Regions from separate parts of the Homo sapiens genome. Here region 2 is linked to region 1. The links are contacts of gene promoters, found by promoter capture Hi-C in blood cells and fetal thymus (Javierre and others, 2016). All regions are on one chromosome and are shown on one strand. The core of a region is centred on a gene start or on the middle of the fragment in contact, and the rest is flanking DNA. Distances in the headings are between cores, read along the strand shown. Region 1 holds the start of S1PR4 (sphingosine-1-phosphate receptor 4). Region 2 has its middle 7.5 kb from the start of TLE6.

Region 1 (4,133 bases), core at 1,634-4,133:
TGATCCACCCACCTCGGCCCCCCAAAGTGCTGCGATTACAGGCATGAACCAATGCACCTGGCCTAACTTTCATTTAATTTCAATGAATTTTCTTTTTTTTTTTTTTTTAATTTTTTTTTAGAGACAGGGTCTCACTCTGTCACCCAGGCTGGCACGATCACCGCTCCCTGCAGCCTCGACCTCCCGGGCTCAAGTGATCCTCCCACCTCAGCCTCTCGAGTAGCTGGAACCACAGGCATGCAACAACATGCTCGGGCTAATTTTTTTAATTTTGGAGGATTTTTTTGTAGAGATGTGGTTTCGCTATGTTGCCCAGGCTGGTCTGGAACTCCTGCACTCAAGCAATCCTCCTGCCTCGGCCTCCCAAAGTGCTGGGATTACAGGCATGAGCCACCACACCCAGCAATTTCCATGAATTTTCAATAGCCGTGTGTGCCTCACAGCTGCTGTGTTGGTGGGTAAATGGCCCCCACACACCGCATTCCCCATCGTACAGTGGAGAAATAATGACTTAAAGCAGAACTTTCTGAGCCCAGGCGGCGGGTGGTGTGGATTCTGACTCTGCTCAGACACTGGACTGGACGGGACTGGCTTGGTCCTGGGAGAAGGTGGGCGAGAGCTGTCTATGAGCTGCAGGTGCTGGAGGCTTCCGGATTTACATCTGCACTGAAACTGTGGCCACCCGCCCCATGGGGCTACCGAAATATAAACAGATTCAAATTAAACACAACCTACACTTCGAAATTCAGTTATCTGCTTGCACCGTAGCCCCGTGGGGCTGGCGTCTCCCATACTGAATGGTGTGGAGCTGAAACGTCTCCACTGGAGTTTCACGGGGCAGGCAGTTGTCAGCCCCTGTGGCTGGCGGGGAGCGTGTACAATCAACCCTGTGCTTCGGCTTCAGTGATTAAACTGTTTTACCCACCGGGAAAGCCGAGGCCGTTCATGCTGAAGGGGATGTGAGGGAAGATTCCCCCAGCCCAGGAAGCCAAGGTGGTGCCTCTGCCAGCCCCAGAGAGTGGGTCCCCAAAAGATGCAGAGGCCAGAGATGGGGCATGGGCCCTGCCATTTCTAAAGGGGAAGTGAACAAGAAGAGGCGGCATTAACTGTCATTGTCACCCCCACTTCCCGCAACGCCCAGAGGTTGTCCACACACACACACACACACACACACACACACACACACTCCACCCTCACAGGGCACTGGCCCGTGGCCCTCTCTAGCAAAGACACACCCGGCTGCCCCTAGATCCACAGCCCCCCTGAGCCACGGCCCCCACGCATGCACGCACCAGGGAATAAGAGGCCGCAACATCACGTACCATGATCGAACTTCAATGTTGCCAGGGCATGCATCCCACAGTCCACCCCTTGCAGCCTGGGAGCCCTACTGAGGCCCAGAGAGGGGCCGGGACTTCCCCAGAATCACACAGAAGCGGGGTTGTGGGGAACCCACTCGCCCCCACACCAGGGTGCTCTCTGCTCCTACGGGGAGGTGGGGTGGTTGCCTCCTTGTCCAGGGTGACCATGGGAAGCCCATTTGGCGTCAGAAGCCCCGAGAGGCCACCGGGAAGACCATGGGGGCCTGTCCCGTTCCCTGCTCCCCATACAGGCGAGGCTGCGTGCACACAGCTTCCTGTACCCCAGGAGGGCCTGCCTGGCACGCACCCGGTGGCTGCACCATCCACACGCAAGACTGCAACTTCAGATGCTCCGCACGCTGGAGATGCTGGACAGGGGCTCCCGCATCCGAAAGCTGAGCGAGCGGGAGCCGCGAAAGCTGTCCCTTGGCCTCAGAGAGCTGTCGGTGGTGGAAGCTCCGGAGTGAGCCTCGACGGCCCGGGCCAGGCAGTCCCCGGGCCCTCGCATGCCCAGCCGGAGACACCCGCAGCAGAGGAAGCTGAGCACGGCTCTGCACACCTCCCTGCTGCGGAAGGAGTAGATGATGGGGTTGACCGCCGAGTTGAGGACGGCCAGGGCCAGGATCCAGTCCATGCCCCGCAGGTACTCCTGGGCCCAGAGGTTGGAGCCAAAGACGTCGGCCAGCAGCAGCCCGAAGAGTGGGCCCCAGCACACCAGGAAGGCCAGCAGGATCATCAGCACCGTCTTCAGCAGGCGGCGGGCCTTGCGGCGGGCCGCTGGGCGTGGGGCCTTCTGCCCGCTGGCCTGCACCAGGCGGAAGATGGCCCCATAGAGGCCCATGATGGTGGCCAGGACGCCGGCGAAGATCACCAGGCAGAAGAGGATGTAGCGCTTGGAGTAGAGGGGCAGAAGGCTGGAGCAGCGGTCAAAGGCGCACAGGCAGTTCCAGCCCAGCAAAGGCAGCATCCCCAGCAGCGCGGCCAGCAGCCAGCAGAGGCCGATGAAGCCGTAGACGCGGCTGGTCTTGGTGGCCCCGCTCTCGGCCACCGGCCGCACCATGGTGGCAAAGCGCTCCCCTGCAGTGAAGAGCAGGCTGAAGGTGGAGGCGGCCAGGGCGGTGAAGAGCAGGCCCTCCCGTAGGAACCACTGGGCGGGCGCCAGACGGAAGGTGCGGGCCCCCGACAGCAGCACGTTGGCCAGGTAGGCCGCGCCCGTGAGCAGGTCACTCAGCGTGATGTTCACCAGGCAATAGTAGACCCAGCGTCGCGACCGCATGTGGCTGGTGATGGCCGCCAGCACCAGCAAGTTCTCCAGCACCACCAGGCAGCTGGCGGCCACCGACAGCCCCCGCAGGGCCCCCAGGCCGCCATCCTCCGGCCCCCCGCGCCCGGCCAGCCGGCCCGAGTGGTTGTAGTGCAGAACAATGAGCCGGCTGTGCCCGCCGGCCGCCAGCTGTTGGCAGGACTCGGGGGCCACCGGGGTCCCCGTGGCGTTCATGGCCTCCCCCGGGGGCTGACTGAGGCCCGACGCAGGGTGGAGCCACCCGCCTTGCTGGTCTTGGTTTCCTGTTATTTGAAATTTCCTGTTATGTTCAAGGTGCCCTCCAGGGTGGAGGTAAGGCCGAGGACAGGGAGGGGCACCCCAACGGTCGGCCCCCACCCGGGCTCCTGGAGCCAACGCGCTGGGGCTGCCCTGGCTGTGAGGACCCCCACCCCTGCCCTGGCTGCCTTCTTCCTGTCCTCGAAAGCCGGAGACCCGCAGGGAGCCCCGGAGCCGTCAGTCACGGAGGGGAAATGAGTCCCCACTCGGGATGGGCCACCCCTTTCCAGCCGGACGACTCCTCCCCACCAGCCCTGATCACCCCCGAAGCACCCGTCGGCTCCACTGAGGTCTCCCCACATGCTCCACCGGCGCTCAGCACACAGCAGGTGCCTAATAAATGTCAAGTGCCTGCATGCCCTTGAGCACTGACTCATCCGACTTGATCCCCGAAACAGGGCCTGATGCGTTACAGAAGAGGAAACTGAGGCCCAGAGAGCCCGGTGCGTTGCAGAAGGGGAAACTGAGGCCCAGAGAGCCCGATGCGTTGCAGAAGGGGAAACTGAGGCCCAGAGAGCCCGATGCGTTGCAGAAGGGGAAACTGAGGCCCAGAGAGCCCGAGGCGTTGCAGAAGGGGAAACTGAGGCCCAGAGAGCCCGAGGCGTTGCAGAAGGGGAAACTGAGGCCCAGAGAGCCCGATGCGTTGCAGAAGGGGAAACTGAGGCCCAGAGAGCCCGATGCGTTGCAGAAGGGGAAACTGAGGCCCAGAGAGCCCGATGCGTTGCAGAAGGGGAAACTGAGGCCCAGAGAGCCCGAGGCGTTGCAGAAGGGGAAACTGAGGCCCAGAGAGCCCGAGGCGTTGCAGAAGGGGAAACTGAGGCCCAGAGAGCCCGATGCGTTGCAGAAGGGGAAACTGAGGCCCAGAGAGCCCGAGGCGTTGCAGAAGGGGAAACTGAGGCCCAGAGAGCCCGATGCGTTGCAGAAGGGGAAACTGAGGCCCAGAGAGCCCGATGCGTTGCAGAAGGGGAAACTGAGGCCCAGAGAGCCCGATGCGTTGCAGAAGGGGAAACTGAGGCCCAGAGAGCCTGATGCGTTACAGAAGGGAAAACTGAGGCCCACAAAGGCGGCCTGAGGCCAACTTTCTGCCCATGGGAGGACACACAGGTCCAGGGAGAGAGACCCCCAGGGACAAGCTGGTAGGGTCTCGGGGCCAGGCGCCCATTTTGGGATTC
Region 2 (6,836 bases), core at 2,297-4,796, 210 kb after region 1:
TCAGGCACCCTGCCCGCATGTCAGGCGCTCAGTCGTCACTGGCGTCTGGGGGTCACCGTACTGGACAGCGAAGATCTAGAACATTCTGTCATCACAGAAAGTCCCAGTGGACAGCACTGATTGGAGGCTCCTAGGAAAGAGAAATTCCTCCAGGGTCCATGTAGAAATCGGAAGCACATTTTCAGTAGTCATTCCATTTCTACTCTTTTTTTTTTTTGAGAAGGGGTCTCACTCTGTTGCTCAGGCAGGAGTGCAATGGTGCAACCTCAGCTCACTGCAACCTCCACCTCCCGGGTTCAAGCGATTCTTCTGCCTCAGCCTCCTGAGTGGCTGGTATTACAGGCACGTGCCACCACACTCGGCTAATTTTTGTATTTTTAGTAGAGACAGGGTTTCATCATGTTGGCCAGGCTGGTCTCGAACTCCTGACTTCAGGGGATCCACCCCCACCTCGTTCTCCCAAAGTGTTGAGATTACAGGCCTGAGCCTTTTTTTTTTTTTTTTTTTTTGAGACAGGATCTCACTCTTGCTCAGGCTGGAGTGCGGTGGCACAATCTTGGCTCCCTGCAGTCCCAACCTCCTGGGCTCAAGCAGTCCTCCCGTCTCAGCCTCCCAAATAGGTGGGACCACAGGTGCTTGCCACCCAGCACACCCAGCTCATTTTTGTATTTTGTAGGGACAAGGTCTTCCTGTGTTGCCCAGGCTGGTTTTGAACTCCTGGGCTCAAGCGATTCTCCTGCCTCAGTCTCCTAAAGTGCTGGGATTACAGGGGTGAGCCACAGAGACTGGTCCATTCTGTTTCCCCCTGCCTTTTTTTTTTTTTTTTTTCCGAGATGGAGTCTCGCTCTATCACCCAGGCTGGGGTGCAGTGGTGTGATCTTGGCTCACTGCACCCTCTGCCTCCCAGGTTCAAGCAATCCTTCTGCCTCAGCCTCCTGAGTAGCTGGGATTACAGGTGTGCGCCACCATGCCCAGCTAATTTTTGTATTTTTAGTAGAGACAGGGTTTTGTATTTTTAGTAGAGACAGGGTTTCACCATGTTGGTCAGGCTGGTCTCGAACTCCTGACCTTGTGATCTGCCCACCTTGGCCTCCCAAAGTGCTGGGATTACAGGCGTGAGCCACCAGCGTGGCCCATTTCTCCCTGATTTAAAACCCCCGTGAGTGGGGTTGGAGGGAATTCCCTGGAGTGTGGTCACCCTGGGTCCTTCCCTTTGGCTGTGCCCTGGCCACTCCAGCCCAGCCAGCAGGGAGCAATTTCCCTTGACCCCTCAGGGAGGAGACAGATGACACAGCAGACAGGAAGGAAGGAAGCCAATATTTCCTCCTTGTTCTTGGCTTTTGAGTTGTTTGGTTGACTTGGAAACTCAAAGTCTAGAAGGTTTGAGACAAAAGGCATTTGCATTCCAAATACTTTGGAGTTTTTGTTTTACACAAGCAAACTACCTTGCTGGGTGCCGTGGTTCATGTCTGCAATGCCAGCACTTTGGAAGGCCAAGGCAGGACGATCGCTTGAGCCTAGGACTTCAAGACCAGCCTGGGCAACAAAGTGAGACCCCATTTCTATAAAAAATAAAAAATTAGCCAGGCACGGTGGCACACACCTGTCGTCCCAGTTGCTCGGGAGGCTGAGGTGGGAGGATCACTTGAGCCTGGGAAGTTGAGCCTGCTCTGAACCGAGACTGTACCACTGCACTCCAGCCTGGGCAACAGAGCAAGACCCTGTGTCGAAAAAAGAATTGCGGCCAGGCGCAGTGACCCATGCCTATAATCCCAGCACTTCGGGAGGCTGAGGCGGGTGGATCACCTGAGGTCAGGAGTTTGAGACCAGTCTGGCCAATATGATGAAACCCCACCTCTACTAAAAACTCAAAAATTAGCGGGGCACGGTGGCAAATGCCTGTAATCCCAGCTACTCAGGAGCCTGAGGCAGGAGAATCTCTTGAACCCGGGAGGCAGGGGTTGCAGTGAGCCAAGATTGTGCCACTGCACTCCAGCCTGGGAAAGAAAGAAAGAAAAAAGAGAATTGCTTGAGTAGATCCTGAATTCCAGCAGAACAGCTGACACCAGCTAGTGTGAAGGCCCCCAGAGAGGAGCAGGATGAGCATGAGAACATAGCTTCTCCCTCCCCCGTCCCAGAACTTCACCCTGCACTCTTCAACCAGTCAACAGGCGCCACACTCCAAAACTTTTTTTGTTCGTTTGTATGTTTCAGACAGAGTTTCATTCTGTCCCCCAGGCTGGAGTGTAGCGGCATGATCTCATCTCACTGCAACCTCTGCCTCCCAGGTTCAAGCAATTCTCCTGCCTCAGCCTCCCGAGTAGCTGGGATTATAGGCACTTGCCACCATGCCCGGCTAATTTTTGTATTTTTAGTTGGTGGGGGGGAGTCTCACCATGTTGGCCAGGCTGGTCTCGAACTCCTGACCTCAGGTGATCTGTCTGCCTCAGCTTCCCAAAGTGCTGGGATTACAGGCGTGAGCCACCATCCCTGGCTTTTTTTTTTTTTTTTTTTTTTTGAGACGGAGTCTCGCTCTGTCACCCAGGCTGGAGTGCAGTGGCGCCATCTCGGCTTACTGCAACCTTTTGTCTCCCGGTTTCAAGCGACTCTCCTGTTTCAGCCTCTCAAGTAGCTGGGATTGCAGGTGCCCGCCACCACGCCCAGCTAATTTTTGTATTTTAAGTAGGGACGGGGTTTTCCCATGTTGGGCAGGCTGGTCTCCAGCTCCTGACCTCAGGTGATCCGATCCACCCACCTCGGCCTCCCAGAATGCTAGGATTACAGCCGCAGGCCACCATGCCTGGCCCTGTTCTTGTTTTTTTAGAGATGGAGTCTTGCTCTATTGCTCTGGTTGGAGTGCAGTGGTGCAATCATAGCTCACTCAGCTGTGACCTCCTGGGTTCAAGCGATCCTCCCACCTCAGCCTTTTGAGTAGCTGGGACTACAGGCGTACACCACCATGCCTGGCTAATTTTTAAATTTTCTGTAGAGATGAGGTCTGGCTATGTTGCCCAAGCCAGTCTTATACAGCTGGGCTCAAGCAATCCTCCTGCCAGGGCCTCCCAAATTGTTGGCATTACAGGAATGAGCCTGGCCTGCTTAAGCAATTCTTAAACAGAAGTATTTTGCTTCTAACGTCAGAGATGGTATCTATGTGGTGCAAATGGTCAGTGTCTAGTGCAATGTGCTTTTCTGTTACAAGGAAGCAGGTCAGAGTGCAGCCAGATTAATGCTTCATTTTAATTTTAATTTTTTATTTTTTGAGATGGAGTTTCGCTCTTTTTGCCCAGGCTGGAGTGCAGTGGTGCAGTCTCGACTCACTGCAACCTCCACCTCCCGGGTTCAAGCAATTCTCCTGCATCAGCCTCCCTAGTAGCTGGGATTACAGGCGCCCGCCACCACGCCCGGCTAATTTTTTGTCCTTTTAGTAAAGACAGGGTTTCACCATGTTGGTCAGGGTGGTCTCGAACTCCTGACCTCAGGTGATCCACCTGCCTCGGCCTCCCAAAGTGCTAAGATTACAGGCGTGAGCCACCAGGCCCAGCCTAATGCTTAATTATAACTATATGTCTGTACATAATTCTTTTTTTTTTTTTTTTTTTGAGATGGAGTCTCGCTCTGTCACCCAGGCTAGAGTGCATTGGCACAATCTCGGCTCACTGCAACCTCCACCTCCCAGGTTCAAGGAATTCTCCTGCCTCAGCCTCCTAAGTAGCTGGGACTACAGGCGCCTGCCACCACGCCTGGCTAATTTTTTTTTATTTTTAGTAGAAACGGGGTTTCACCATCTTGGCCAGGCTGGTCTCGAACTCCTGACCTTGTGATCCACCCGCCTCGGCCTCCCAAAGTGCTGGGATTACAGGCGTGAGCCACCGCTCCCGGCCAATCTGTACAGAATTCTTGTTAACCCTGTGAGGACAGCTTCACCCCCACCCTCAGGCTCCACACCAACCCCCTGTCACAGGAAGAGTGAGTTTGTGGAAGTGGCTAGGATTGATGAGGTTTGCCTCCTGCCACCTGGTAGAAAGAAGCTGATATTTGTTTTCTGTAGCTGCTGTAACAGATGACTGCAAACCAGGTGGCTTCAGACAACAGAAATGTATTTTCGCACAGTGACGGAGGCCAGAATCGAGGTGTGGGGAGGGCCACTGTGCTCCCTCTGAAGGCTCCAGGGGAGGGTCCTCCCTGCCTCTTCCAGTTTCTGGTGGCGGCCAGCAGGCTTTGGTGTGACTTGGCTTCACTCCAATTTCTGCTTCCATCACTGCTTGGCTTTCTTCCCTGTTTGTCTCTGTGTCTGTGTCCAAATTTCCCTCTCCTGATAAGAACGCCAATTATTAGATTTAGGAGCTGCCTTGAGAATCGCTTGAACCCGGGAGGCGGAGGTTGCAGTGAGCCGAGGTGGCGCCACTGCACTCCAGCCTGGGTGAGGGAGTGAGACCCTGTCTCAAAAAAAACAAAAAACAACAACAACAACAACAAAAAAACAACAGATTTAGAAGCTGTCTTAATCCAATGTGACCTCATCTTAACTAATCTTTTTTTTTTTTTTGACTCGGAGTCTTGCTCTGTCGCCAGGCTGGAGTGCAGCGATGTGATCTCGGCTCGCTGCAACCTCCGCCTCCCAGGTTCAAGCGATTCTCCTGCCTCAACCTCCCCAGTAGCTGGGACTACAGGCGCCCGCCACCACCACGCCCAACTAATTTTTGTATTTTTAGTAGAGATGGGGTTTCACTCTGTTGGCCAGGATGGTCTCCATCTGTTGCCCTTGTGGTCTGCCTGCGTTGGCCTCCCAAAGTGCTGGGACTCCAGGTGTGTGCCACCATGCCCGTCTAATTTTTGTATTTTTTTGCCGAGGGGAGTGTTGGCGTGTTGCCCAGTCTGGTCTCAAGCTCCTGGCCTCACGTGATCCACCCACCTTGGCCTCCCAAAGTGCTGGGAGTACAGGAGTGAGCCACTGCATTCGGCCATAACTAATCATATCTGCAATGACCCTATTTCCAAATAAGGTCGCATTCCCAGGTACAGGGGATGGAGGGGGCTTTTGGACTTCAACAGATATTTTTGGGGGACAAAGTTCTACCCACTACAAGGCTCAAAAAAGAAACTGTCAACCTAAATAACAAACAAGGAGAAGCTCTCTAAAACAAAAGGATATTTATTTGGAAATAGGGCTTTGCAGTGCTATAGTAAGTAAGCTATGCACATACTGAGGGAGGTAATAGAAGACAAAGATTTCTAAAGGAGAATTGAGGAAGATGACGTAACTATTTTGAGGTAATTATCCTTCGCTACAAGGATCAATAACAACGGTAGGCCAGGCACGGTGGCTGACGCGTGTAATCCCAGCACTTTGGGAGGTTGAGGTGGGCAGATCACCTGAGGCCAGGAGTTCAAGATCAGCCTGGCCAACATGGAGAAACCCCATCTCTGCTAAAAATACAAAAATTAACCGGGCATGCTGGCGCCTGCCTGTAATCCTAGCTACTTGGGAGGCTGAAGCACAAGAATCACTTGAACCCAGGAGGCGGAGGTTGCAGTGAGCTGAGATCACACCACTGCACTCCAGCCTGGACGACAGAGTGAGACCCTGTCTCAAACAAACAAACAAACAAAAAACAAGGATAAAGCTGGTCTTGTTGAAAAGATGTCCTGTAGAATAAGGTTGTGACGGGAAGTTTGATGCGGCCAGGCGTGGTGGTTTACGCCTGTAATCCCAGCACTTTGAGAGGCTGAGGCAGGCGGATCACGAGGTCAGGAGATCCAGACCATCCTGGCTAACACAGTGAAACCCCGTCTCTACTAAAAATTTAAAAAATCAGGGCTGGGCGCGGTGGCTCACACCTTTAATCACAGCACTTTGGGAGGCCGAGGTGGGCGGATCACGAGGTCAGGAGATCGAGACCATCCTGGCTAACACGGTGAAACCCTGTCTCTACTAAAAATACAAAAAAAATTAGCCGGGCGTGGTGGTGGGCGCCTGTAGTCCCAACTACTCAGGAGGCTGAGGCAGGAGAATGGCGTGAACCCAGGAGGCAGAGCTTGCAGTGAGCCGAGATCCTGCCACTGCACTCCAGCCTGGGCAACAGAGCGAGACTCCATCTCCAAAAAAAAAAAAAAAATCAGCCGGCATGGTGGCGGGTGCCTGTAGTCCCAGCTACTCGGGAGGCTGAGGCAGGAGAGTGGCAGACGGAGCTTGCAGTGAGCCAAGATTGCGCCACTGCACTCTAGCCTGGGTGACAGAGCGAGACTCCATCTCAAAAAACAAAAAGAAAAAAGGAAGTTTGATGCAAATTTTTGGGGTTTGCAGCCTTTTATTTTTTTCTTTTATTTTTTTGAGACAGGGTCTCATGCTATTGCTCAGGTTGGAGTGCAGTGGCCCCATCATGGCTCACTGTTGCCTCAACCTACGAGGCTTAAGTCATCCTCCCACCTTAGCCTTCTGAGTAGCTGGGACTACAGGCATGTGCCACCACGCCTGGCTATTTTTTATTTTTTATTGTTTTGTAGAGGCAGAGTCTGGCTGTGTTGCTCCGGCTGGCCTCAAACTCCTAGGCTCAAGTGATCCTCCTGTCTCGGCCTCCCAAAGTGCTGGGATTACAGGTGTGAGCCCCGTGCCCGGCATGCAGTCTTTTGTGATATTTTCTTGTTATCAGGCATCCATGCATGAGAACGCACTATTCAAAGCTGTCCCTGGCTCTATTTGTCACTTTGCTGTTGTTGTTGTTTTTTTGTTTTTAGACAGAGTTTCACCTTGTCACCCGGGCTGGAGTACAGTGGCGCGATCTCGGATCACTGCAACCTCTGCCTCCTGGGTTCAAGTAATTCTCATGCCTCAG

Evidence for each region. Contacts are between HindIII fragments. The CHiCAGO score rates a contact against its expected background, and 5 or more counts as called.
Region 2: a fragment that was not itself captured here is called in contact with the fragment with the promoter of S1PR4 in region 1 in 3 of 17 cell types (naive CD4 T cells, activated CD4 T cells and monocytes); the score reaches 5.5 in naive CD4 T cells.

What each region holds. Positions count from the first base shown.
Region 1 is chr19:3,177,519-3,181,651 of GRCh38, reverse strand. S1PR4 (sphingosine-1-phosphate receptor 4) reads right to left here and starts at 2,883. Exons shown (of 1, transcript NM_003775.4): 1 at 1,320-2,883. The coding sequence starts at 2,859. The coding sequence ends at 1,705. RefSeq lists enhancers at 636-685, 1,296-1,525, 1,566-1,745, 1,786-2,435, 4,019-4,133 and a silencer at 2,666-3,215. The HindIII fragment of the contact is 14,219 bases long and covers 1-4,133 here.
Region 2 is chr19:2,966,610-2,973,445 of GRCh38, reverse strand. No RefSeq gene overlaps it. Among named protein-coding and RNA genes, the nearest start is that of TLE6, 7.5 kb to the left of the region's middle. The HindIII fragment of the contact is 8,792 bases long and covers 1-6,836 here.